Regions from separate parts of the Homo sapiens genome. Here all the other regions are linked to region 3. The links are contacts of gene promoters, found by promoter capture Hi-C in blood cells and fetal thymus (Javierre and others, 2016). All regions are on one chromosome and are shown on one strand. Each heading gives the region's core, a stretch centred on a gene start or on the middle of the fragment in contact. The rest is flanking DNA. Distances are from core to core; before and after follow the strand shown.

Region 1 (4,499 bases), core at 997-3,496, 660 kb before region 3:
TGATGTTATAAACATTGATATATACTGCTTTTTCTTTAACCAAGTAGATTTTAGTTTGGAGGGGAGAAAGATGTGGAAATTTGTATACTATGAGAGCAGGTTTTAATGTAGGGACAAAATAACAGAGAAGAAAGAATAACTTACATAAGCCTGGAGGAATCAAGGAGTAATGGAGACTGGAGACTTTTGAGTTAGTCCTTATTTTAGGAACCACCTAAAATACACTTCTAGTGTATGCTTATGCCCGACTGAGAACAGAAGTCATAGGCATGGCAGCAGCTTCTAGAAACTGTAGGAACACCAGTACAATTACTTTATCTACCAAGAAAGATTGATGACTCCTTCCAGTTCCCTTCACTGAGTATTGAGAACTAAGCACCATCCTTCTAAGGGGCTTTGCATGTAGTCATTAATTTTGTTCTATTTATGTGAGAATCTGCTTTAAGACTGTGTCAGGGGTAAGCAAGAATTTCCACATAGATGCGTCCATTCACTCTAAAAATACCTCAGACCAGTACCCAGGGGATAACCCAAGGCAAGAAGCACTTATTTTTTAGCACTGTGTGCCAAACAGTACAAACATTATCTTCTGCTACACAAATTACTTTTCAGTATGCTAAGGATAAAAATTACAAGCAACAGGCACTTATTTCTCTTTTTAATACTAGGAAAATACTTTAAATTTTTGCTGCTTAGAATTAATCACATCTAATCAATCACTAAATATACTAGCAGATAAAAAAATATTTGCAGACAGAATCAATTTGTGGTCCTATTTAGCATTAGGTGACTGGATATAAGGGAAAAAATCTTGAAACAAATATGTGAATGGAAAAAGTATGTTCTTGATAAAATAACTGCTAGGATGCTACTAAATTGTGTAAAAAAAAAAAAAACAAATAACATCTGATATCATCACATTTTCCCTTTTCCATGCAACAGTCTTATACTATGTAATTATAATTTCTTCAATCTCTGATGCAGCTTGATGTTCTGAACCAGCTCATAGTGCTTCCTATTCACGTACACAAACATTTACATATTGACCTAAATCCTCTCCCAGGCTGTTCAAAAAGGAAAAAGAAAAAGCTTTCTTTTTTTTTTTTTTCCCTTGGTCCCTGATCTCATTTTCCCAGATGGTATTAAAATTGAGTTCAAGCCAGCCTAGCACCTGTGTGGATAGTTTTTTTCCTCTTTGCACAATTTATTTTTAAATTTTCTTATAACAGATCTGTTATTTAAGAAGTATTTATACAAATAAAGAAAAATTATGTAAAAAATAAATGAAATAACTTAAAAAAACACATTTTAGTTTTTCTCTCTGCCTAAATTTTTTTTTGAAGAGCAATGAAAATAAACAAATGATTACATTATTCTGTTAAAGGAGGATTATACTATAACATCTTATGGCTGCTTAATTATGTAACTGGATAGTATATCATTCAGTAAGATTGAGTTCTGGAATCTAAATTATAGCAATGATTTTGAATTTTGATTTATTTCTACTATATACATGTTCCCTGTCATCAAAGAGAACTTTCATCTATTTGGTAAACAGTGGACACTCAGGAAGTACGTTTTGAATGAATTGAAAAGCATGAATGAGTTAATTAAGTAATACATAAACCATGAGGATTTTTAAGGACTTTCTTTTTCCTATGTACCACATCTTGAAATAGGTCTTCAGTCACTTTCTATGGACAAGGAGGATGCAGTAACAACTATGCTATCATTTTTTTGAAGGAGAGCAATAGTAAAAAATTAGAAGGCAATCTTCTTCATATGACAAGTACTTGTTAGAGAAAGTAACTCTCAGGTATCTAACAAATATTTAAAATATTGAAAAGAAATAAAGCAAGACGTAAAGAGAGAATACCCATGAGAGACTTTCATAAATAAAATATAATAGGAACGTTTGTGAAAAAAAAGGCTGAAAAATTAAGTCCAAATATCGATATGAATATAATTAAAATGTTAAAAGGTTTATATTTATTTATTATAAAAAATTAAAAGTAATGAGGAAATAATTCTTGGATAATAACAAATTGGACCTCTGAAATGAATAAGAGGCATAGGAGAAAAAAAGCCCTAGCTAATCACATTTCACAGTGGAAAGAAAAATGAATACATAAATACATCACACTTTCATCTAGAAATTTTGTAATCCCATTTTCATAAGACATTGAGAAGGCTTTTCTTTGGTGCCTTATTGTTTTTACTATGTCTCAAAATATAAGGCAATGAGATACTTAGAACCCAATAGCCCAAATTGAACTGTCAATAATTGGAAGGAAACTACTCAAAACTGACCTCACAACCACTAGCCACCACTTAACCTCCTCTCCATTCCCAGAAGAGGATGGTCAGGAAGAAAAGGAGAAGAATGAGGGCAGTAGTCAGAGAACCCCAACTTATAAGAAGTGCAGTAGTATTATGCTGAGAAATTGCATCTATGGGTACCCAAATTAAAGGGTAAAATGGGGATCCAAGAAAATGATTCTGAAAATGCAGGGGTGTCTACAAAATGGTGAGCGGCTGTTTGATGGTGGCTTGGATAGCAGAATTGCTGTTACCATCTTTCATGTCCCTCAGCAAGATAAATGGGCAATGGAGTCAGATGGCAAAGGTCTATCAAGGAACAGAATTCACCAAAATGTTAACAGTGCCTGTCTCCTCTGTAGCTGGATTTTGGAAGACTTTTTTAAATATCCATATTTTTCTTTATTTAAAATGATGTCAGCAATAAGAACATGACTTTTCTATACTCAAATAAAGCCAATTAAACATTAACATAGAAAAGTAAAAAACACTAATCTTCATTGGTCCAAGTAAAGAAAATATTTTCTTAAATATAAAAAAGGGCTTGGCCGGGCTCGGGGGCTCATGCCTGTAATCCCAACACTTTGGGAGGCTGAGGCGGGCAGATCACGAGTTCAGGAGACTGAGACCATCCTGGCCAACATGGTGAAACACCATCTCTACTAAAATACAAAAAATTAGCCGGGCATGATGTTGCATGCCTGTAGTCCCAGCTACTCGGGAGGCTGAGGCGGGGAATTGCTTGAACCCGGGAGGTGGAGGTTGCAGTGAGCTGAGATCGTGCCACTGCACTCCAGCCTGGCAATGGAGCAAGACTCCGTCCCAAAAAAAAATAACAAAATAAATAAAAAATAAAAGAGATTTATTTTTCCTTTTAAATTTATAATCTATTATTTTTTAATAAAATATTTTTCATCAGCCCAATTGGGAAATTGCTGACTTACGGACTACTGAAAATATAAGGAAATGTCCATATTTAAGAAAATTTTTATATAAATATTTAATTTAGTAGTATTAAAGGATTGTACATTCCAGTATTACATGGTAACAAAGTCAAGGCTTGGTAAAAAATGATTAAAGCTTTTGTAGATTATTCTAATTGGCATATTAATCAAAGTTCAAGGGATAGTTAGTACACTGGAATTCAATTTAAAAAAATGTGTAGGCAAAGCCTCTGCCTCATGAAGTTGAGAGTCCAGAGTGCAGGGTATGTTAGAGAAAGTACAGCACTATAGGAGTATGTAACAAAACAAACAAAAGGGACAGTCAGTAAATAACTACACATTCATTGATTATACATATAATACATATATAAAGAACAATTACATTGCTCAGTTCCTTTACACAAGGTAATTGGTTGACACGGTTAAACCAAACGATTGTCCTAGCTGGATAATTCTTTAGTACACATTAAGTGCAAAAGAATGAATAGTTTCTGCTTAAGTATTAAGAAAGGCTTACTGGTTTCTACTACATATATACTGTACACTTTTTATGTTCTTGAATGTATAAACAATACAACTAACTCAGCTAAACAAACATTTATTTTACACCTACCACACACAACATATTGTACTGTATACAAAATGATGTACTGTTTCTACCCTCAAGATGCTTTCACATCTAGAGGAACCTTGTACAAAACATATGACAAGATTCATATTTCAGTTTTTAATGAGATATCATTTGAACTAGGATAAGGCCTCCAAAGCTAGTGAAGGCAAGAAATACAAATTAGATGACTTAGGAATGTTTGAATGCTCTGATTGGTACTTTACATGTGGCATATCACCTAATCTCAATAACTGCAAATTAAGCGTTATTTTAGTCATTTTACATGCCAGAAAAATGATGCAAATAAGTTAAATAATGTTTCCCAGTTGATTTCACTAGGACTTAACAATTTTATTTTCCAGGGTTTTTCCACTCTGCCTCCCCAGTTTCTAAAGGAAATTTGGATAATTAAGATGAGTCGGGTGGCTTTTTCCCTCTCATTCACCATCCTTAGATATGTCTTCAGTATGGTTCACTTCCCAGATCACATAAAAAATCCTACCAGCGGGGAATAAAGGCAGCTGAATTTTGTACATAATGAAGTAAAAATTTTGGTTTGGGGAAAACTGGGAGTGTCAGTGGTAGAAAGTGTTAACATAGAAACAGAGATAATGAATATTATAAAA
Region 2 (4,487 bases), core at 530-3,029, 700 kb before region 3:
CAGCAGATCTCTTGGCAGAAACTCTACAAGCCAGAAGAGACTGAGGGCCAATATTCAACATTCTTAAAGAAAAGAATTTTCAACCCAGAATTTCATATCCAGCCAAACTAAGTTTCATAAGTGAAGGAGAATTAAAATACTTTACAGACAAGCAAATGCTGAGAGATTTTGTCACCACCAGGCCTGCCCTAAAAGAGATCCTGAAGGAAGCACTAAACATGGAAAGGAACAACCGGTACCAGCCACTGCAAAAACATGCCAAAATGTAAAGACCATCAAGGCTAGGAAGAAACTGCATCAACTAACGAGCAAAATAACCAGGTCACATCATGATGACAGGACCAAATACACACATAACAATATTAACTTTAAATGTAAATGGGCTAAATGCTCCAATTAAAAGACACAGACTGGCAAACTGGATCAAGAGTCAAGACCCATCAGTGTGCTGTATTCAGGAAACCCATCTCACGTGCAGAGACACACATAGGCTCAAAATAAAGGGATGGAGGAAGATCTACCAAGCAAATGGAAAACAAAAAAAGGCAGGGGTTGCAATCCTAGTCTCTGATAAAACAGACTTTAAACCAACAAAGATCAAAAGAGACAAAGAAGGCCATTACATAATGGTAAAGGGATCAATTCAACAAGAAGAGCTAACTATCCTAAATATATATGCACCCAATACAGGAGCACCCAGATTCATAAAGCAAGTCCTTAGTGACCTACAAAGAGACTTAGACTCCCACACATTAATAATGGGAGACTTTAACACCCCACTGTCAACATTAGACAGATCAACGAGACAGAAAGTTAACAAGGATACCCAGGAATTGAACTCAGCTCTGCACCAAGCGGACCTAATAGACATCTACAGAACTCTCCACCCCAAATCAACAGAATATACATTTTTTTCAGCACCACACCACACCTATTCCAAAATTGACCACATAGTTGGAAGCAAAGCACTCCTCAGCAAATGTAAAAGAACAGAAATTATAACAAACTGTCTCTCAGACCACAGTGCAATCAAACTAGAACTCAGGACTAAGAAACTCACTCAAAACCGCTCAACTACATGGAAACTGAACAACCTGCTCCTGAATGACTACTGAGTACATAATGAAATGAAGGCAGAAATAAAGATGTTCTTTGAAACCAACGAGAACAAAGACACAACATACCAGAAACTCTGGGACGCATTCAAAGCAGTGTGTAGAGGGAAATTTATAGCACTAAATGCCCACAAGAGAAAGCAGGAAAGATCCAAAATTGACACCCTAACATCACAATTAAAAGAACTGAAAAGCAAGAGCAAATACATTCAAAAGCTAGCAGAAGGCAAGAAATAACTAAAATCAGAGCAGAACTGAAGGAAATAGAGACATAAAAAATCCTTCAAAAAATTAATGAATCCAGGAACTGGTTTTTTGAAAAGATCAACAAAATCGATAGACCGCTAGCAAGACTAATAAAGAAGAAAAGAGAGAAGAATCAAACAGATGCAATAAAAAATGATAAAGGGGATATCACCACCGATCCCACAGAAATACAAACTACCATCAGAGAATACTACAAACACCTCTACGCAAATAAACTAGAAAATCCAGAAGAAATGGATAAATTCCTCGACACATACACCCTCCCAAGACTAAACCAGGAAGAAGTTGAATCTCTGAATAGACCAATAACAGGATCTGAAATTGTGGCAATAATCAATAGCTAACCAACCAAAAAAAGTCCAGGACCAGATGGATTCACAGCCGAATTCTACCAGAGGTACAAGGAGGAGCTGGTACCATTCCTTCTGAAACTATTCCAATCAATAGAAAAAGAGGGAATCCTCCCTAACTCATTTGATGAGGCCAACATCATCCTGATACCAAAGCCTGGCAGAGACACAACAAAAAAAGAGAATTTTAAACCAATATTCTTGATGAACATTGATGCAAAAATCCTCAATAAAATACTGGCAAACCGAATCCAGCAGCACATCAAAACACTTATCCACCATGATCAAGTGGGCTTCATCCCTGGGATGCAAGGCTGGTTCAACATACGCAAATCAATAAATGTAATCCAGCAGATAAACAGAACCAAAGACAAAAACCATATGATTATCTCAATAGATGCAGAAAAGGCCTTTGACAAAATTCAACAACCCTTCATGCTAAAAACTCTCAATAAATTAGGTATTGATGGGACATATCTCAAAATAATAAGAGCTGTCTATGACAAACCCACAGCCAATATCATACTGAATGGGCAAAAACTGGAAGCATTCCCTTTGAAAACTGGCACAAGACAGCAATGCCCTCTCTCACCACTCCTATTCAACATAGTGTTGGAAGTTCTGGCCAGGGCAATTAGGCAGGAGAAGGAAATAAAGGGTATTCAATTAGGAAAAGAGGAAGTCAAATTGTCCCTGTTTGCAGATGACATAATTGTACATCTAGAAAACCCCATTGTCTCAGCCCAAAATCTCCTTAAGCTGATAAGCAACTTCAGCAAAGTCTCAGGATACAAAATCAATGTGCAAAAATCACAAGCATTCATATACACCAGTAACAGACAAACAGAGAGCCAAATCATGAGTGAACTCCCATTCACAATTGCTTCAAAGAGAATAAAATACCTAGGAATCCAACTTACAAGGGATGTGAAGGACCTCTTCAAGGAGAACTACAAACCACTGCTCAAGGAAATAAAAGAGGATACAAACAAATGGAAGAACATTCCATGCTCATGGGTAGGAAGAATCAATATCGTGAAAATGGCCATACTGTCCAAGGTAATTTATAGATTCAATGCCATCCCCATCAAGCTACCAATGACTTTCTTCACAGAATTGGAAAAAACTACTTTAAAGTTCCCATGGAACCAAAAGAGAGCCCACATTGCCAAGTCAATCCTAAGCCAAAAGAACAAAGCTGGAGGCATCACGCGACCTGACTTCGAACTATGCTACAAGGCTACAGTAACCAAAACAGCATGCTACTGGTACCAAAACAGAGATATAGATCAACGGAACAGAACAGAGCCCTCAGAAATAATGCCACATATCTGCAACCATCTGATCTTTGACAAACCTGACAAAAACAAGCAATGGGGAAAGGATTCCCTATTTAATAAACGGTGCTGGGAAAACTGGCGTGCCATATGTACAAAGCTGAAACTGGATCCCTTCCTTACACCTTATACAAAAATTAATTCAAGATGGATTAAAGACTTAAACGTTAGACCTAAAACCGTAACAACCCTAGAAGAAAACCTAGGCATTACCATTCAGGACATAGGCATGGGCAAGGACTTCATGTCTAAAACACCAAAAGCAATGGCAACAAAAGCCAAAATTGACAAATGGGATCTGATTAAACTAAAGAGCTTCTGCACAGCAAAAGAAACTACCATCAGAGTGAATGGGCAACCTACAAAATGGGAGAAAATTTTTGCAACCTACTCATCTGACAAAGGGCTAATATCCAGAATCTACAATGAACTCAAAGAAATTTACAAGAAAAAAACAAACAACCCCATCAAAAAGTGGGTGAAGGATATGAACAGACACTTCTCAAAAGAAGACATTTATGCAGCCAACAGACACATGAAAAAATGCTCATCATCACTGGCCATCAGAGAAATGCAAATCAAAACCACAATGAGATACCATCTCACACCAGTTAGAATGGCGATCATTAAGAAGTCAGGAAACAACAGGTGCTGGAGAGGATGTGGAGAAATAGGAACACTTTGACACTGTTGAAGGGACTGTAAACTAGTTCAACCATTGTGGAAGTCAGTGTGGCGATTCCTCAGGGATCTAGAACTAGAAATACCATTTGACCCAGCCATCCCATTACTGGGTATTACCCAAAGGATTATAAATGATGCTGCTATGAAGACGCATGCACACGTATGTTTATTGCGGCACTATTCACAACAGCAAAGACTTGGAACCAACCCAAATGTCCAACAACGATAGACTGGATTAAGGAAATGTGGCACATATACACCATGGAATACTATGCAGCCATAAAAAAGGAAGAGTTCATGTCCTTTGTAGGGACATGCATGAAACCGGAAACCATCATTCTCAGCAAACTATCGCAAGGACAAAGAACCAAACACCGCATGTTCTCACTCATAGGTGGGAATTGAACAGTGAGAACACATGGACACGGGAAGGGGAACATCACACTCCAGGGACGGTTGTGGGGTGGGGGGAGGGGGGAGGGATAGCCTTAGGAGATATATCTAATGCTAAATGACGAGTTAATGGGTGTAGCACACCAACATGGCACAGGTATACGTATGTAAGAAACCTGCACATTGTGCACATGTACCCTAAAACTTAAAGTATAATAATAATAATAACAAAAATAAAAAAAATAATTACCACTAAAAAAAATGATGGATTCAGAACTTCCAAGGTCTACGGAGTAAAGAAAGAAAATAGCAAGTTAGAAATATTAAAAGAAAATTATCTA
Region 3 (4,820 bases), core at 196-2,695:
GCCTGTTCCAGGTGTTTGCCAATGTTTAGACAGTCACTACTCAATGTTTTCTATTATTTTGTTTCTTAAAATCTTCAAATGTTGGAAATTACAGTGTTGGCTTTCAGGGACTCAAAAATGTGTAAGTGTGTGTGGTTTTGTGTGTTTTCCTCCTAAGCTCAGGGATAAAACTAAACAAACACGAGTACTGGGCAGGCTAGCTAGTTTTAAAAGAAGGCAAAAAGGCTCAGAGAATCGGCATGTTGTTAGACAGGGTGTGCCCACTGGCACAAGACCTCCTGGGGAGAGGCTGGACATTCAGGATGTTTATGAGTAAAAGTAGAAGGTGGAAAAAGAACACACAAGGCCCAGTGTCCTGACAGCCTGGCACGAACGCAGCTCAAAATAATTACTACTGCTGAAGGAGCCGTTTCTGTTCCATCTTGTGTCCTTGCTAAAATAAATAATAAATAATAACAATAAAGCAGTCTACATAAATATATGAAATACCCATATAGAGCTATTTATTTGTATATAAAATATCTGTATTTTTTTCTTACTTCTATCTGAGGACGCCAGCTTCCGAATGAAGCGGAGTTTTTGTCTACCAGACCCACAAGCAGCATGGTGCGGGTAGAATCCTGTTTTAAAGAAGCCCAGAACAATAATTCCCGCAATCATAGAGAAAATAAGCCAGTGCCCGAAAGCAACAAATAAAAATAATGTGTGAAGAAAAAGAAAAGGACTTCTTCCTAGCGGCGGCAGATGCCCCCAGACTTTATGACTTCCTCTCCATCCCGACAGGGAAAGCAGGACTGAGTTTGTCGGAAGGTGAGCGGGGCTTGGCCAGAGACGGTGTGCGCTGAGGCAGCGGCCCTGGACAAGAGTGGCGTTTGGATACTTGACGGTGAAAGGGGAAGAAGCCAGTCACCAGCTCCAAAGTCCAGGAACTACACCTGGCAAAGGTCAAAGCCTGCGAGGTAAGTCAATTGCGGACAACGCCTGAGCCCCGCGTTTGCAGCCGGCGAGTTGACTTCGGTAGGGAGAAAGTGGCCGGCCCCAAAGGGCAGCCCCGTGGGGGCGCGAGTGGCTAGCTCAGTTTGCGGTCCCCTTTACTCCCACGCCTGCAAATCTCAGACCCCTACGCCCTCCCCTCGCCGGCCTTGGTGCGTCGGGGTCCCGCCGCCCGCCGTCCCTTACCGAGCCAGAAGTGCAGGTGGTAGGTGAAGCCTCGGCTCGTCTTGGCCGTGTGCAGCACCAGGTAGGCATCCCCGACGTAGAAGTCGCCGTGAGCGCTCTGGGGCACGGGCACCAGCTCCAGCTTCTCAATCCTCCAGACCTGCAGCCCCGCCTGCTTGCCCGCCCGGGCGAACTCTTCGTGGTATAGCTCCCGCGCCATGGCTCCTGCACGCGATGCTCCGGGGGACGCGTGATATCGCTGATCTTGGACTAAACCGAGAGCAGCAGGAGGAACCTTATTCGCCGCCACTTTATAGTGTTTGCCATCCGGGGAGGCGGCGCCCTGAAACGGGAGGGGCTAAGTGCCCAGGCGCGAGTTGACAGAGGAGACGATCGCTTCCCACGGGGAGCGCAGCGCTGGCTTCCAAGCTCCCACGCCTTGCCCCAGGCCAGGAGCGGAATCGGCGTCCCAGAAGTCTTGAGATTCAGAGGGAGTTTATAGTAACTCGTGCCAATGCCTCCTCCAAGGAAAGACATTTTCTCTAGCAATAGACGAAGAACATTAACGGTTAAAACTGCTTGGCACTCCTTTGTGCATACCCATCACTACCGTCCTGCATATTTCCCCTTCTCTCGCTAATCCTCTTATTTCTGGATCTCAGTTGTGCCTGGCAGGAGGGGTGAGGTGAGGAAAGAGCGCGCCAGCCCTGCAGAGTTGAGTCAGCGTTTACTCGGGTGGAGCAATACCTGTTCTTTCTGGCCCTCTAGAATAATTCTTAGAACAAGGCTTCCTCTGCTAATAGCAACACCTGCCGTTAGGCAGCAGAGGAGTGTGCCACATTAGCATGCTGGAATAATTTTAATACATCCTTCTTTAAAAAATGGGCTTTTTGAGTAACAAGCATCCTAATGATCAATTCTGTCATTTCATTGGGCAATCTCTGCATTCCTGACGACCAAAGTTTCTGTCTCGATCTTCCAGTTTGAAAATACCATGAAAAACAGCATGTCAGATTTCTTGGACAGGAAGAAAACCTGGAAGAATGGCAGTATTACCCCAGGTGACAGAGCTCTGTAAATCTCAGAGTTCAGGAGCTGTGGTTGAGCTCTCTTAACACCTGCTTCCTTTGGCCAAGAAAGATGAAAACAACAACAAAAACCCAGCAGCCGCCGTCCTGAGATGTTCTCTGCAGGGCTGTTTGTGGCTGTAATTTTATGCTTGGCCGGACTTCTGGGTTACCTGTTACCTAGCTTCAAGGTGATAATTTTCTTTGTTTTACCTACAGGTTTTGCTTTTGCAGCATGGCTAAAACACTATGGAATACAGATGGAAATTTTACTCTTGATTTGGCATTCATTTAACAAGCTGGTATAGCAAAGGATTCTGTTACTGAAAAAGGCAAATCACTCAGGATGTATAGAGTAAGAAAGCTGAATTTCATGCATGTAAAATTGTTTTCATTCAATTTCTCAAATTACATGAATCCCTGGAAGGTCAATAATAATGCAAAATTAGATTTTTTTCCTTAATTAAATTATGTTTTTAATAGGTTATTACATGACCATGGTAAAAAAATTAAAAGTACAAAATGTGTGCAATAAAAAATTATCTCCATTTCACCCTGCCACCCAGTTGCTTTCCCCAAAGGCAATTACGTTACCAGTTTCTTATGTATTTTTCCAGGCACTCAAATTTTGTCAACAAGAATATAGGTAATGTAGTTATTTTAAATTTTTAACAGAAAATGTAACATATAACCTTTTCGAATCCCCCCCCGTGTGTGTGTGTGTGTGTGTGTGTGTGTGTGTGTGTGTGTGTGTGTCTGTGTATCAACACACAGTACTCATAGAGCTACCGGTTTTTACTGACCATATGGTATTCCACTTTATAAACATACTAATTTATTTTGTCTATCTCAGTTCATAGTGTAGGGGCCAAGGGAAAACTTCCCCTCTACCCTCTGAAGTTTCACTGAAAAATCAAGTCACAAAAGGCAGATTAACAGGACAAATGGCATACAAATTTATCAGCGGGCATGGGGGAGAATCACAGAGTGATTGGCCAATATCCCAATGAGGTACAGAGGGTTGTACCTCCTTATTAGAGGAAAGGCAGATGGGTGATGTATGGGTGATTTGGGGGGTTAGAAAATGATTTTTAGGGGAATTCAATGTGTTTGAAGAACATACAGTGGCCTGAGACAAAGTATGTTAAGCCTGCAGAGCTCTCCGTGTGTGTTGACAGACTTCAGTCTTTCTTTCTGCAATATGAGTTCAGTTTGTGGAAAGTCAGGGAAGAGACCAGAGGTAACTGTTTTCTTCTTTGGCAAGTCGAGACTTTAGGCAGATAAGGGAACTTCAGAGAATACCTTCATTCTGTGCTTTGGGAAAGAGAGGATTGGTGAAGGAAGGTCAAAGAAAACTTAAGCCTTCTTCATTTCAGCATGTCAAAGTGTCACATTTTGTGGTATTGGTTTCTGAGCCCCAACACTAGGCATTTAAATTTTGTGTATATTTTGCCAATACAGTGTTACAAATAGCATATTGAACATACTTTATTATGCATTCGCAGTATTATAATTGAGATAAAACCCTGGAAATATAATTGGTTGGGATTAAATAGCTTTTATGTAGTGACGATAATTATGAAACCAATTACTACCACTTACTGATCTTTGACAATAACAGGCTATAGTACACATTACCTTGATTCAATTCCTGCTTTCATCCTTAGTTCTGAGACTTTCAGGAAGTTACTTAACTACACACAGCCAGCCTCATGTTCCTCATCTCTAAAATGGGAAAATAATAATATTTGCCTTATAAGATTATTTGGTTTAAATGAGTCGACACATATAAGGTATTTGTGTCTGTTACACAGAAAACACTCAATAATTAGGAACAATTTTTATGTGGTGGTGAGCTTCCTTTTGCTCCTTTAGATATCTTCTCTATCCTGCACCCTTCCACCTTCCCTTGAGGTTGATCTACAAGAGCTAAATCAAGTGGGCTCTGATGTCCTCTGGCTTGAGGCTTGGTTGGAGACCAGAGGGAGAAAAGAGAGTGAGGCTGGAGTATTTATTTCCTTGGCTCCTTCAGCAAAAAGTCACTGTTCTTTTAAAGGCGAATAACTGTGTCTGACTTTTTGTCTCCTGTTGGGTTATAGCAACTCTCCCCTCACATGTTTTATTCCTTTTGTTTTCTCTGCCTCTGTTCTTTTGTATATAGCTTCCTAAAAATCTCCTGGAATTTTCCTATTTTGCATGCATGCTCTGTTGTAAGTTGAGATCCTGATGGATAAATTTTATTAGCTACATTCTTTTTTTGTCTCCTGACCAAAACAGTGAGAGGTGGATATGAAGCCTCATTTTATTGATGAGGGAACTGAAGCTTTGGAGTTTGCCGTAGGTCAGTCACCCAGCTGATGAGTAGCCAAAGGGAATTCAAGTTCTCTCTCTCATTCAAAAGTACTTGCTCTTCCCAAAAACGTATTCTTTCAATCTAAATTATTTGGCCAGGTGTTTTTCCCTGAAGCATACTTTATAATTTTATTTTCTTCAAGGTTGTATCTAGAGAAGCTTCTGATCTAGTATGTCCCATGCAGCACTAAGAAACTTAGTTTTAACTTTGAGCCATTAGGTCTCAGTTTCCTTATCTGTAGA
Region 4 (4,337 bases), core at 165-2,664, 720 kb before region 3:
TTTATTGGACTCTGTTTTATGAGGACAATTCAACCTTTATAATATTAGAAAAATTTTAGCTTCATGTTATAAATTGACAGAATTTGTTAAATTATAAAGAAAGAGAGGACTTCCTTGCAGAACCTTTAATTTAAATTTGTTCAAGTGCCACACTATCTCAAAGATCTTTTTCTGTAAAATACTTATATAAATTTGTGTTTTTGTCTGCCTTCCCATCAGATTTCATGACTGTTGGGCTATGCTTACTTCATCAGTGTTTCTCTAACATTTGTTACATTGCTTTCCATTCAATAACTACTTATTAAGTGAGTGTATGAAATAAAAACAATAACACACTTTTTAATCATAGTTGCAAAACTTCATAAATTTAGTATAGATACTAACCCTATTTCAAAGAAAAGAAATTGATTATGTATACTTGTTTTACAGTCATCAATTTTTGTGTCTCCACATAAATAGAAAGGTAGAATTATGTTTTATATATTTTAAGAATGTAGCAGAGCCTCTGAACTTACATGACCGCGGTCCAAAATCCATCTTTACTCAGATGGCTTTACAACTTGGGCAAATTACTTATATCCTCTGAACCTCAGTTTCCTTCCATAAAATACAGGGATAAAAACAGTATCCATTTCATAAGATATTGTGAGAATTAATAATATAAAATATAATGACAGTAGTTATAGAGCCTGAAACACAATAATATGTATTCAAGGAACTGCTATTATGTATACTACTGATTTGCTAATAAATTACATGTTTGCATAGGTTTGTCACTGTGATAATTTTTTCTATTTAGGTTTACAATTTTAGATTATACGCAACAAAGAATTACAAAACAGACCGATTAGATACAATCAAGGCAGAATTCAAATTTTGTCATAAGCTTTTCAACAAATATTTATTGCATATGTGCACATTAGAATAAGCTTTTCTGCAAACATTGTTTATTTCACTATCTTCATTTTAAAAATACAATTACATGTGTTACCAGATCTGAAATTCTTTCCCTATTGCTACTACTCACCTTGATAACTGAAATCCTCCATTTCTTTTCCCCCAGATATAAATGGAAAAAAGAAGGCATTCTGACTTCCAGAGAGATATATGAGGATTAAAATGTAGTTTAAAGTTTAGATACCACAGACATTTCCAAAGACATCTTTTTGTCTTTTATGCTGGGGATAGAGGCTTTTTGATGGTGTTTTTATTTTAAGTATCTATAGGCTTTTATCCATATGAGTATGATATAATTTTGTTCCTGCTGTAACCATTTGCTTATTCTTTTAATTGTTCCACTATGAAAAAATTTGATGAGTGCAAAAAAAAAACAAAAAAAAAACCAAAAAAACAACAACCCATAAAGTCCAGAAGTAAAGCCTTGCTTAATCATTGTAATCCACTGAATATACAACTGATAGTGTACCAGGCTGAAGATGTTGCCAAATGATCTATGCATGTTGAAAGGTATGCCAGCTTAAACCTTGATGGATTATTACCAATCCCCTAAGGGAGTACCAAATTTTCAGTGGACACCTGACAGCCATTAAGCAAGTCTGGCTGCCTAGAAATACTCACTCAGTTTCTAAGGTTGATGGAATGTCTGTACTTAGGGAAGTTGATGACATTCTGTGTCTAGCCCATTTTTCATCACTAGCAGAGTGACACATGATTTCATAATTGGTTCAGTATTATTCACTTTCCCTTATGTGGCTATGAACAAGAAAACAATAAAACAGCTGGAAACTGATTTGAAATACAATGTTCATATTCTGAGAAACACTTTACTTCAGTGTACATGCTGCCCCAAGCATCTCTGAAGTAGTCAACCAGGAAATGTGCCTTAGTGGTGATTACTTTGTCTTTATGAAAATGCACATACGGAATAAAGTAAGCTTCAATAAACCAGATTAAAGAGTTGGCCAAATACTAGGAGCTGATATATTTAAAAAGAATAAACACACAATTTAGCCTCAAAAGAAAATATTCACACAGACAGAGATTTAGTTATAATATGAAGATGATAATTAAAATTAAATTCTGCTACTTTTTAGTACTATCTCTATGGTTGCACTAACAAAGATATGGAAAACTGACAGAGATTTGTAGAAACATATTTCAATAGATAGCAGTTTGTTTCTTTAAACATTTTAATCCCCCTGTTAAACAGACATTGAATCCACTCAATTCAATTCAATAAACACACATCAAAGGCTTTCCATGCGTCAGGCACCAGTAAACGTGTTGGGAGCGAAAAAAAAAAGAGAGAGAGAGAGAAAATTCTTGCCTCCATGTATCCAATTATTAGGGCATCATAAAAATGATATAAATTACATACACAACCCTGAAATGTTAGTGACTAAAAATCAAGGACTACACAAATAATATTTTATGTTAATATCTTTAATGTCTAGCAATTAGTTCAAACAGATCCTCAATTAATATTTGTATTATGAAAGAAGAATTATAACTCATTAGCAAAAAGATGGTGCTGATATAGACCAAAATCTCTAGTTACTTGATTATTGGAGGCTTCTTATACATAGGGGAAATGAGAATGCCACTGATTCAATGCAACAGTCTTTTTTTGGTGATTTCCCCCAGACCCACTGCTCTTGTTTATCACCAAAATTAAGTTGATTGTCAGGTGGCCAAGAATCTCTCACTTTTGCAGTATTTTCCTCATAATTCTACATTTTAGCCACTGTTATAAGAAAAGCTAATTTTATAGAACTACTAGGAAACAAAAGACTGTTTTGTTGTTGGTTTTCTTTTTTTTTTTTTTTTGAGATGGAGTCTCGCTCTGTCGTCCAGGCTGGAGTGCAGTGGCGCAATCTCAACTCACTGCCAGTTCTGCCTCCCGAGTTCACGCCGTTCTCCCGTCTCAGCTTCCCAAGTAGCTGGGACTACAGGTGCCTGCCACCACGACCGGCTAATTTTTTGTTTTTGTATTTTTAGTAGAGACGAGGTTTCACTATGTTAGCCAGGATGGTCTTGATCTCCTCACCTCGTGATCCACCCGCCTTGGCCTCCCAAAATGCTGGGATTACAGGCGTGAGCCACCGTGTCCGGCCAAAGACTGTTTTTGAATTTTAGTGATGGAGAGTTCACTGCCTTCAGGTACTTTAACATTCAATATGGCCAGAGCTTCCCCACTAAACGAGTAGAGCATGGATCCAACAGCCAGGAAGAACACTTAGATTTTGTAGGATATGAAAATCCTGATGGCTGAAGCAGGGTATGTAGGGATCCAGTTGATTATGGATAGTAAGGACAGTGGTAATAATCATTGAGCATATCTTTTAAATGTTAGGGTAGACAATCTGAAGATATTTATTTTCTACTAATGATGTTTTACATAGGATTTTTGTTCCAAAATTTAATATTAGGAGATACTTGTCCAACATATGTAACAAAGCACACACAAATGTGTGCGTGTGCACATGCATGCATGCACACATACTATGTAGTTCTAGGCCTAATGTCATTCATAAAAGAAACTCCTAAAATGTATTCACAAATAATAAAAGACTATGGCTTTGGGACAGCCAATTTTTTTCTTTTTCAAACTTTTACGTATCATTCTCTAAAAAGCTCTTTGGTACCACATATAAACTGAGTTACATAAATTAAGACAATTAAGGTATCGTTTGAGGATTTATTTTGTGGGGGGAGAGCAGCCTCCTAAGCCAGAGTAGGCTCAGAGACTCCTTCATTTGGGATTTTCTGACAAAAACAGCAGAATTGTGAAGGATCATCTGGGGGTAAATTAAGTAGTTATTTTGCTAGTAGTCACTTCATTTGTGGGTGGCCAAATGGATAAAACTCCAAATGCCAAGGTGAGGATGGCAAAAGAACTCCTGGCAGAAAAAACTATATGAGCATAAGCACAGAGTAAGCAAGAAAGCATGTCATGTTCTGCAACTGTGGATATGCTACCTTGAGTTTCCCAGAAGATTTGTACTGGGAAAGTGTAAGGCTGGTCATATAGGTTAATATAAACTTAAGAAGAACCTAAATGTTTGAGTTATGGAATATGGATTTATTGGAAAATAAGTGAGGAGGCATTGAAGGTGGTTAAATAAAGTGCTGACATCATCATTTAGGCAAATGATTCAGACAGTAGCAATCAGGATATGTTGAAATGGTTTAATTATGGAAAGATAAACACTTAAATATGTTAAAGCACTATTGAGGGTAACTTGCTATGAAATTACTATTAAATATGCCTGCCTGTTTTTTTCCTATATCTAGCTCTTTAAACATTTCACTTACTGGTGAACTATGAGCACACACATATATATGTATGCATAGATAGTACTTTTGTACCCATTAAC
Region 5 (4,693 bases), core at 1,180-3,679, 680 kb before region 3:
GTGAGGTCATCTGGCAGGGTCTTAGTCCTATCAAATCCAGAGCCATGATTTTTGAACAGTTTTAATGAGCAATAATGGGCAAATATTACAATTTTTTGAGATCTTTAAGGTGTACTATTTTAAGTAGGTGTGTACACCCATAAAATCACCAAAATGATAAAGATAATAAACATATTAATCACCCTGCAACTTTTTTTGAAATTTTTTCGTTCAGCATAATTATATTTTTTTCTTCAAAGCCCCAGCATAATTATTTTGAGATTCATCTCTGCCATTGTAGTTCGTTCATTTTTACTACTAAATAGTATTCCATTGTATGGATATGCTATAGTTGGATTATCTATTTGCCTGTTGATGAATATTTAGGATATTCCTACATTTTAATCATTACACATAAAGCTTCAATAAGTATTCATGTACAAGTGTTTTTATGGACACGTGCTTTCATTTTTCTTGAGTAAAAACCTAGAAATGTAATGCCTGGATTATATAATAGTTTATGTAAAAATTTTTAATAAAACTGCCAATTTGTTTTTCAAAATGACTGATTGTACCATTTTATATTTATATTACTAAAAGCAGTGTATGATTGCTTACTTATTTAATGTGGAGAGTTCTTTATATATTCTGTATAAAAGTCCTTCAAGAGATATAGAATTTGGAAATATTTTCTCCCAGAAAGTAGCTTGGCTTTCAATTTTATTAACAGTGTCTTTCGAAGAGGAGAAATATTTTATTTTGATAAAGTTTAATATATTAAATTTTTCTTTAAGAATCATACTTTGTTATAGTTAAAGATCTTTGCATAAAGATCAAAGATAGTTTATTGTATATTTTATTCTAGAAGTTTTAGAGATTTGTGTTTTATATGTAGGTATACAACCTACTTTGAATTATTTTTTGTATATGGTGGCACATAGGTAATGCAGTTCTTTTTACATTTTAACATATGGACATCAATTATTCCAGATGGTTCACTGAAAAGGCTATTCATTTTCCATTTGTTATCCAATTTTGTGAAAAATCAGTTGTCCAAATATTAGTGAGAATATTTATGGACTCTATTTTCTTTCATTTCTTTTTCTATCTTTATGCTAATACCACATTCTTTTAATTATCAAAACTGTATAATAACGCCTGACATCACAGCGTGTAGTATTACTTCTTTAACTTTGTTCTTCACTTGCAAAGTTGATTTGGAACCACCATGAAAAATTCACCAAATTACAGAAGATAGCAAGAGAGAAAGAAAGGAAAAAATGATGTATTAAATAGTTAGAAAACAATTAACAAAATGGCATTAGTAAGTCCCTGCCTATTAATAATTACTTTACATATAAATGTATTAAGTTCTCTAAAGACATGGAGTAGCTAAATGAATAAAAGAAAAACCAAATGATATTCTGCCTACAAGAAACTCACTTTAGCTTTAAGGGCACACATAAGCTAAAAGTGAAGGGGTAGAGAGAGATATTGCATACAAACAGTAACCAAAAGAGAACAGAGGTGGTCATACTTAACATTAGATAAAAAAAGACATTAAGTCAAAAATTGTCATGATACAAAGAAAGGTATTTTATAATGATAAAAGGGTCAATTCATCAAGAAGATATAAAAATTACAGATATTGATGCACTCAACATCAGAATGCCTAAATATGTAAAATAAATACTAACAGAAATGAAGGAGAAATAAATAGCAATGCAACAACAGTAGAGAATCTCCACACCCTACTCTCAACAATGGATAGAACATCCATCCAGGCACAAAATCAAGGAAACAGCAGATTTGAACAACACTGTAGATCAAATAGACCTAACAGACATATACAGAAAATTTCACCCAACAGAAGCAGAATATACATTCTTCTTAAGTGAACACGAAACATTCTGCAAAAACAAGTCTTAACAAATTCAAGAAGATTGAGCTAATATTAAGCATATGTTCTGGGCACAATGGTATGAAATAGGAAATCAGCAATAAGAGGCATTTAGTAAAAGTCACAAATACGTAGAAAATTATATAACTTCTAAACAACCAACGGATCAAAGAAGAAACCAAAAGAGTAATAACAATATATTGAGATAAATTAAAATGTAAATACAACATACCTAAGCTTATGAGATGGCAAAAATAGTCAGAAGAGGGAGGCTTATTAGCCTACACGATTTTTAAAAACTCAAATAAACAACCTGTCTTTACACATTAAAAATCTAGAAAAAGAAGAATAAACTAAACTCAGGCTGGCAGAAGACAGGCTGTAGTAAAGATTAGAGTAGAAATAAATAAAATGGAGAATAGGAAAGCAACAGAAAAAATTGACAAAACTAAGACTGGTTTGTTGAAAAGATAAACAAAAATACAAACCTTTAGCTAGACTAATCAAGAAAAAAGAGAAAATACTCACATAAACAGAATTGTATATAAAAGAGAAGACATCACAACTGATAATACAGAAATACAAAGAATCATAAGAAATGAATAATTATACTCCCCATAAGTTGTATAACCTAACAGAAATAGATTCCTAGCAACATGCAACCTACCAACACTGAAGAAATACAAAATATGAATAGATCAATAACAACATATTGATTCAGTATTCAAAAATATCCCCAGGAATAAAAACCTAGGACCAGATGGCTTCCCTTGTGTGTTCTATTACACATTTAAAGAAGATTTAATGTCAACTCTCAAACTCTTTCAAAAAAATTCAAGAGAAGGGAATGCTCCCAAGCTTATTTTATATGGCCAGTGTTACCCTGACTCCAAAATCAGATTAGTACACTAAAAGAAATGAGATTAAAAGTCAATATTACTGATAAACTTAGGTGTAAAACTTCTCAAAAAATAATGTCAAACCAAATTTAATGATGACCATTAGACAGTACACCATAATCAAGTGGGATTTATCCCTGGGATGCAAGGATAATTCAATATATGCAAATCAATAAATGTGCCATACTACATTAACACAATGAAGGATAATCTGATCATCACAATATATGAAGAAAAAGCAGCTGACAAAATTCAACATTGTTTCATAACAACTCTCAACATACTAGGTATGAAGAAATTTACTTCAACATAATAAAGGCTATATATATATATGTAATCTCTAGTTAATATCATGCTCACTAGTAAAATGAGGAAAGCATTTTCTCTAAGTAAAGAGTAAGACAAAGATGCCCACTCTCAGTTTCTATTCATGATTGTTCTAGAAGCCCTAGCAAGAGCAATTAGGCAAGAAAAAAGAAATATGCAAATCCGAAGGGAAGAAGCAAAATTGTCTGTTTACCAATGACACTGTGTTATTTATAGATAACCCTAAAAACTTCACCAAAAAACTGTGAGAATACATGAATCTAGTAAAGTTGGAGGAATAAAAAAAATACAAAAATCAGTAGCATTTTTATACACTGAGTTACCTGAATATGAAATCAAGAAAACAATCCCAGATACAATAGGTTAGAAAACAATAAAATACTGAGAAATCAATTTAACCACGGAGGTTATAGACTTTATAAAGCTGATATACTAAAAATTATAAGACACTGATAAAAAAAAGTTGAAAACAAAATAAACAGAAGCCTATTCTACGTTAATGGATTAGAAGAATTAATAATATTAAATATCCATGCCTCCAAAGCAATCTATTAAATGCAATCCCTAAAAATATTCCAATGGCATTTTTTTTAAGGAAATAGAAAAAACAATTCTAGAATTTGTATAGAAGCACGAAAGACTTCAAATAGCCAAAGCAATCTTGAGAAAGAATAAAGCCAACAGCATCACACTTCCTGATTAAAACTATATTACAAAACTATAGTAATCAAAATAATACGGTACTGACATAACAACTGATACATTTACCAGTGGAACAGAATTAAGTGACCTGAAATAAACCCATGTATATATGGTCAAGTAATATTGGAGAAGAATATACAATGAAGAAAGGATATTCTCTTCAATAAATGTTTTTAAATTTAAGCTTTAATTTTTGTGGGTACATATAGGTGTATATATTTATGGGGTACATAAATGTTGGGAAAACTGAATATTCACAAGCAAAAGAATGAATTTGGACTCCTAAGTTATACTACTCTCAAAAATTAACCCGAAATTGATTAAAGATTTAAATGTAAGACCTGAAGTCATAAAACTCTTAAAAGAAAACATAAGGGAAAATTTCCTCCACAAGCTCCTCGACACTGGTCTTGACAATGATTTTTTGAATGTGACAACAGTCCACATAACAAAAGCAACAATATCAAATGGGGCTGTATCAAACTAAGAAGATTCTGCACAGAAAAAGAAAAAATATGCAAAATGAAAAGGCAATCAATAGAATGGAGAAAAAAGTTTGCAAACTATGTATCTGATAAAAGGTCAATATCCAAAATATGTAACGAACTCACACAACTCAATAGCAAAACAAAAACAAACCAAACAAACAGATAACACCAAAGCAAATATACTTTGATTAAAAAATGGGCAAAGGACCTATACAGGACATTTTCCAAAGACGATATACAAATGGCTAAACAGTACATGAAAAGATTTTCAACATTACTAATTATCAGGAAAATCCAACTAAAAACCACAATAAGATATCACCTCATGCCTGTTATAATGGCTATTATCAAAAAGACACAAATAAGTATTGGCAAAAATATGGTAAAAAGAGAACCCT
Region 6 (4,850 bases), core at 177-2,676, 580 kb before region 3:
AATACAGCATTTATTAATTTAGTACATGGTTATATAGCAAAAATGAATGTAATGCTATGTTTAAATTATTAATTTAAATAATAATGAAACTAGCCAACAGTTAATTACAGATCATGTCATCTTATCAATAATTAGGAATATAAAATGTCATCAAGAGCCACTTACTTTAGTTATATTTGCCTAATGTCTGTGTTTAGGCCCTGTTCTATTTTATATGCTTATATTCTCAAAATTATTCCTGAACTTGAATTTCAAAGGCCAAGAAGCTCTGTTTCAAGGATCGACATTCATGACTTTTTTTCAGAGTAGAGTTGAATCGCAAATTATAATAAAAAAGAATTGTGTATTTTAAAATGTGTTACCAATGGATAGTAAGAATATGTGTGACATTTGCTTTTTATGTATTTCAAATAATTTTTCTAAAATAATGGTACAATATTTATGAATAGGGTAGAAGTATTTAAAAACAGACATGGTCTCTCATTCCAGGAAGTGCTCCCCTGTCTACTTGGTCTTTTTCAATTTAAATTACCCAATAGCAACTTTTGTGAATATTGAGCAGAGTTGAAGAGAGGATAAATGGAGCCTGAAACCTAGGATGACTCATAGTTATTTGTCACTGTCTTAAAGCCAGTTTTGTCCCTTTTGTCATGGACAATGCATTACCTAACTACGTAAGTCTGAAGACAGTGTCCCACTCTCTCTAAAGATTTAGTTAATTAATTCTACATAATATCTCCTTGCTGTGCATTGATATATGACCTGGCTTTGTAAAGTAGATATTGGTGTTTTATTTGGCATTTAAAGTGGTACAAAACAGAAGTACTAGACAGAAGTAAAGAATGGATAGAAGCGTTAGAGGCTTTGAAATCAAATGAAACTTGGTTTAGATTGGGAACTTTGTTAGTTGTCACCCTTTGGCCAGTTATTTAAGTTTCTGAGATTTTAAGCTTATGAGATTTAAGATGGAATGTTGTACAGATTCAGTTAGACAGTTTACGTGAATTCTTAGTAAAATGCCTAGCATGTAATAGATGCTCATTCAATTATATTTATTACTCTTCCTAATTTTAAGCATAATGGCATAATCTCAGCAGAGATAACTTTAATACCTTCTAAAAAATGTCATTTGCTACTTTAGTATTATGTATTTCCCAGAGGAGCAGAGTCATAGTATGACCTCATCTTTCAAATCCCTTACGTATTCCCAACTAGGTCTACATGAGGCAAGGATATCCAAGCTCATGACTTTATTACTTCTAAATGTTTAGAACATTCACTTGCTCATTCAACCAACATTAATAATCACAACATGTCAGTTGCTGAACGAGGCTCTGCATATGCAAAGATTGAAGATAGCTCCAGTGAAGTCCCTATCAAGTGCTTGGGCATGCCATGAAGATGTTTTATTGTTAATTGTCCCATCCCATATATCTGGATTATAACAACTGAAGAGTAGGTACATGACTTTATGCTTCATTGAAAGTATTGTCTTCTCGACATGAATATTGCTTTATAATGTTTATTATCCAGTTGATTAAATCTTATATGCCATTATGAAGACCAAATAACAAATATATATTCTTCATACCTATGCCTTATTATTTTTTCATGAGTCAAAGAATAAACATTTATATTTTAATGCAAACATTTATTAGCCCAAAAGAATGAAAAAGAAATCTATAAGCCATCGCAATTCAGAGTAGAACAATTTATAATTTCTAAAATAGTGTTTATTATAACCATTTAAAGGAGAGAAGCTCTTTGGAAAAACAACAATGCATATAACAGAAAACTGTAAAAACAAAAATGTTCATTTTCATTTGCTTTAATAATGAATTTGAAAACTACTGGCAAATAAAAATTGGCACAATTTTCTTTTTTCTAAAAATGGAAGCTTTATCTAAAAGAATGCCTCTATTTAGTGAGTGATTATACTGCATGGAAGTATACAATGTCTCTGAAACCACAGATGCTTACGGGGTTAGGATTTTGGGCACATATTTTGTTGAAATATGCCAAATAGGTGTTTTTAAAAATGTGTTCCATTCTATATCCAGTCAGGAGCCATATTTGGTATAGCTTAAGTGTAAAAGCAAATGTCATAATAAGCTAGAACATTGTTTATGTTTTTCTACCTTGCAACTCTCCTGTAGTCAACACTGTCAAGAACTCTCTCCTTTCTTAGGAGAGTTGAGAGTAGTAAGTGCTGCCCAATGACCAGAACATTGCGTCAGTTATGTGTAAGTTTTGGCCTTATGACACAAGCATGCTTTGGGAAAGAAGGGTTAAATGTCACTGCAAAATGATTTCTAGTCACTTTATGCTTCTGGGGACAGAGGGGAGAGAGGGAAAAGGTGTATGAAAACATTGACCAGAGTTGATAAGCCAAGTCAGTGAGAAGGTCATGAAGGTGGTGAACTGTTCACTTTCTCCCCCAACCCCTAAACCCCTGACCATGTTTGGGCATTGCAAATGGTGTGATCAGGGTTTTTCATTCTACAAACTGGCCTACAGAACAAGGCAGCAATAGGGTTGATGGACATTACTATGTTTATAGTCTTGAAAGTTGAATTAGAGGTCATGATTTAAAGCAATAGTAAGAAATCAATGGTGCACAGCTACTTGGGCAGATGGCCACACCACTAAGAAAGCATCAAGGGTTCTCTCAGAGAAATGTTCATCATGCAATTCCTCTTTCCATCTTTTTCTGTTTTTAGTTTATATTCATTTTTCTTAATATGTATTCTATACTTTATTTTCCCCATTATTTCTTCCTTTTGTTGACATTACCTGTTGATTTATCCATTTATATTTTCATAATAAAAAAACTTAATCCTTAAGTTTATTTTGTTTAAATAATCTGCTATATCGAATATTATATATCAATAATTTATATGAATGCATGATTTTTGTATATTTAGTTGCACTCCATGTATGAGTCCTATTAGAATTGATTTTAATAGAGTATTAAAAGATAGACTTTGGTAGATTTTCATTAAATTTACAAAAATTTGAAAACCTGAACAGTGCTAATATTCAATCAAGCAACGATGTAAAATATTTATTCCCTTTGAAGTATTTCAAAGAGTTATTAAGGTGGCATTCAATGACTTACCAATAATCTTTTATGATATCCTCTTTAAAAAATATTGATGGGGACATTTTGAGGCACAAGTGAGTACATCTTGCTATGGTAGATATTCAGGGCTTATAAGTTCTAGTTTTGAATGTAACAAGTGATCATAGGCAATTTACTCACCTTCTCCAATAAGCTTCTTTATGAATAGACTGTAGCCCATGTCTAACTTATGTGCAATTCGTATCAGGTTTGTGGGATTATTTAAAACGATGCATGTAAAAGAGTTTAGGAACTGCAACATAAAACAAATTACTGATGCACTGTTGTTCTCTTATTAAAAAAAAAAAAAACTCATTCTTGAAGTTAGTTTTCCATTCTCCTCAGAGAAAACAGTGTGGTGTTTAAAATAAAGAACACACACACACACACACACACACACACAATCATAACACATTACTCCCCTCCTTAAAACATTTTAATGACTTGCTATAAAGTTTAGGAAAATAATAATACCCCTCACTATGGTCTACCATGTCCTACCTACATTAGCCAGTTTTACCAGTCTCTCCAATTTCAGCTCTCTTGCTCATTGTTTTCTATCCACAAAGCCCCCACTTCTGTCTTTCAAAAAACCAGACTCACAGTCTTCGCTCTACTGTGTTAAAAGAAAACCTGCAGAAAAGTTAAATGTAATAGAGTTTATTTGAGCAAAAGATGATTCATAAATGAGGCAGCACTCAGAAGTAGAAGCAGTTCAGAGAGTCCAGCTTTATAGACTTTATGATATATAATCCAAGATATATATCAATAATTTATATTTGGGTGTATTAGCTTTGCATTCATGAATTTTTTTTGGGGGTGGGGGGCGGTTTGAATGCATGGAGTTTTGCATGGAAGCTAAGTAGAGAAATCACCTACCCAACCACAGCTAGACATCTGCCTTATTTGGGCACAGTGTGATGAGTGGCTGCCTGTGATTAGAAGAAACCTGGCTGCTTGTGATTAATTACAACTCAGTAGTTACACTCCTAAGTTGGTTTTGGTTTGTTTAGTACTGTCAGGTTGCAGTTTGTTTGTAGGAACTCAAAGCACAGATGCAGCCTCCAGGTAATGGCCTCTCACTTATTTAACAAATGCTTTCCTCTGCTTAAAATCCTCTGCTTTAGATAAAGCAGTGAGTGCATTCCTCACTGTTTTATCTAAAATAATCACCACCAACCCTCACCAACCCTTAAAACACCTCACTCTTCTTCCAATAAATTGTAATTTGCAATTATTTGATCTACTCATTTGCTTACTATTCTTTATGCCCTTCCCACTAAAATAGTTATTACATTTATATAACAAAACTCAGAAGTAGAAAAGACCACACCACACTGTATCAAGTGCCACATTATGTGTGAAAATATATTCATTACGGCCCGGAGCGGTAGCTCACGCCTGTAATCCCAGCATTTTGGGAGGCCAAGGCGGGCAGATCACGAAGTCAAGAGATTGAGACCATCCTGGCCAACATGGTAAAACCTCATCTTTCTAAAAATACAAAAATTAGCCAGGCATGGTGGCTCACACCTGTAGTCCCAGCTACTTGGGAGGCTGAGGCAGGAGAATCACTTGAACCTGGGAGGTGGAGGTTGCAGTGAGCCAAGATCATGCCACTGCACTCCAGCCTGGCGACAGAGCGAGACTCCACCTCAAAAAAAAAAAAAAAAAATTATCCAAAGATAAAAAACCATTCAAATCTCACCCTATTGGTCCAGAGGGACCT

The links. Contacts are between HindIII fragments. The CHiCAGO score rates a contact against its expected background, and 5 or more counts as called.
Region 1: a fragment that was not itself captured here is called in contact with the fragment with the promoter of SCIN in region 3 in 2 of 17 cell types (total CD8 T cells and total B cells); the score reaches 5.6 in total CD8 T cells.
Region 2: a fragment that was not itself captured here is called in contact with the fragment with the promoter of SCIN in region 3 in 11 of 17 cell types (total B cells, naive B cells, non-activated CD4 T cells and 8 more); the score reaches 10.6 in total B cells.
Region 4: a fragment that was not itself captured here is called in contact with the fragment with the promoter of SCIN in region 3 in 5 of 17 cell types (non-activated CD4 T cells, naive CD4 T cells, total CD8 T cells and 2 more); the score reaches 7.7 in non-activated CD4 T cells.
Region 5: a contact is called between a fragment that was not itself captured here and the fragment with the promoter of SCIN in region 3, in 9 of 17 cell types (naive B cells, total B cells, total CD8 T cells and 6 more). The highest score is 9.3, in naive B cells.
Region 6: a fragment that was not itself captured here is called in contact with the fragment with the promoter of SCIN in region 3 in 1 of 17 cell types (total B cells); the score reaches 5.1 in total B cells.

What each region holds. Positions count from the first base shown.
Region 1 is chr7:13,232,183-13,236,681 of GRCh38, reverse strand. No RefSeq gene overlaps it. Among named protein-coding and RNA genes, the nearest start is that of ARL4A, 550 kb to the right of the region's middle. The HindIII fragment of the contact is 2,310 bases long and covers 1,092-3,401 here.
Region 2 is chr7:13,268,576-13,273,062 of GRCh38, reverse strand. No RefSeq gene overlaps it. Among named protein-coding and RNA genes, the nearest start is that of ARL4A, 580 kb to the right of the region's middle. The HindIII fragment of the contact is 8,784 bases long and covers 1-4,487 here.
Region 3 is chr7:12,567,345-12,572,164 of GRCh38, reverse strand. SCIN (scinderin) reads right to left here and starts at 1,445. Exons shown (of 16, transcript NM_001112706.3): 1 at 1,180-1,445. The coding sequence starts at 1,378. It overlaps LOC107986768, which reads left to right. Exons shown (of 3, transcript XR_007060635.1): 3 at 784-4,820. The HindIII fragment of the contact is 5,456 bases long and covers 1-4,550 here.
Region 4 is chr7:13,288,499-13,292,835 of GRCh38, reverse strand. No RefSeq gene overlaps it. Among named protein-coding and RNA genes, the nearest start is that of ARL4A, 600 kb to the right of the region's middle. The HindIII fragment of the contact is 966 bases long and covers 932-1,897 here.
Region 5 is chr7:13,248,973-13,253,665 of GRCh38, reverse strand. No RefSeq gene overlaps it. Among named protein-coding and RNA genes, the nearest start is that of ARL4A, 560 kb to the right of the region's middle. The HindIII fragment of the contact is 621 bases long and covers 2,119-2,739 here.
Region 6 is chr7:13,147,922-13,152,771 of GRCh38, reverse strand. No RefSeq gene overlaps it. Among named protein-coding and RNA genes, the nearest start is that of ARL4A, 460 kb to the right of the region's middle. The HindIII fragment of the contact is 947 bases long and covers 953-1,899 here.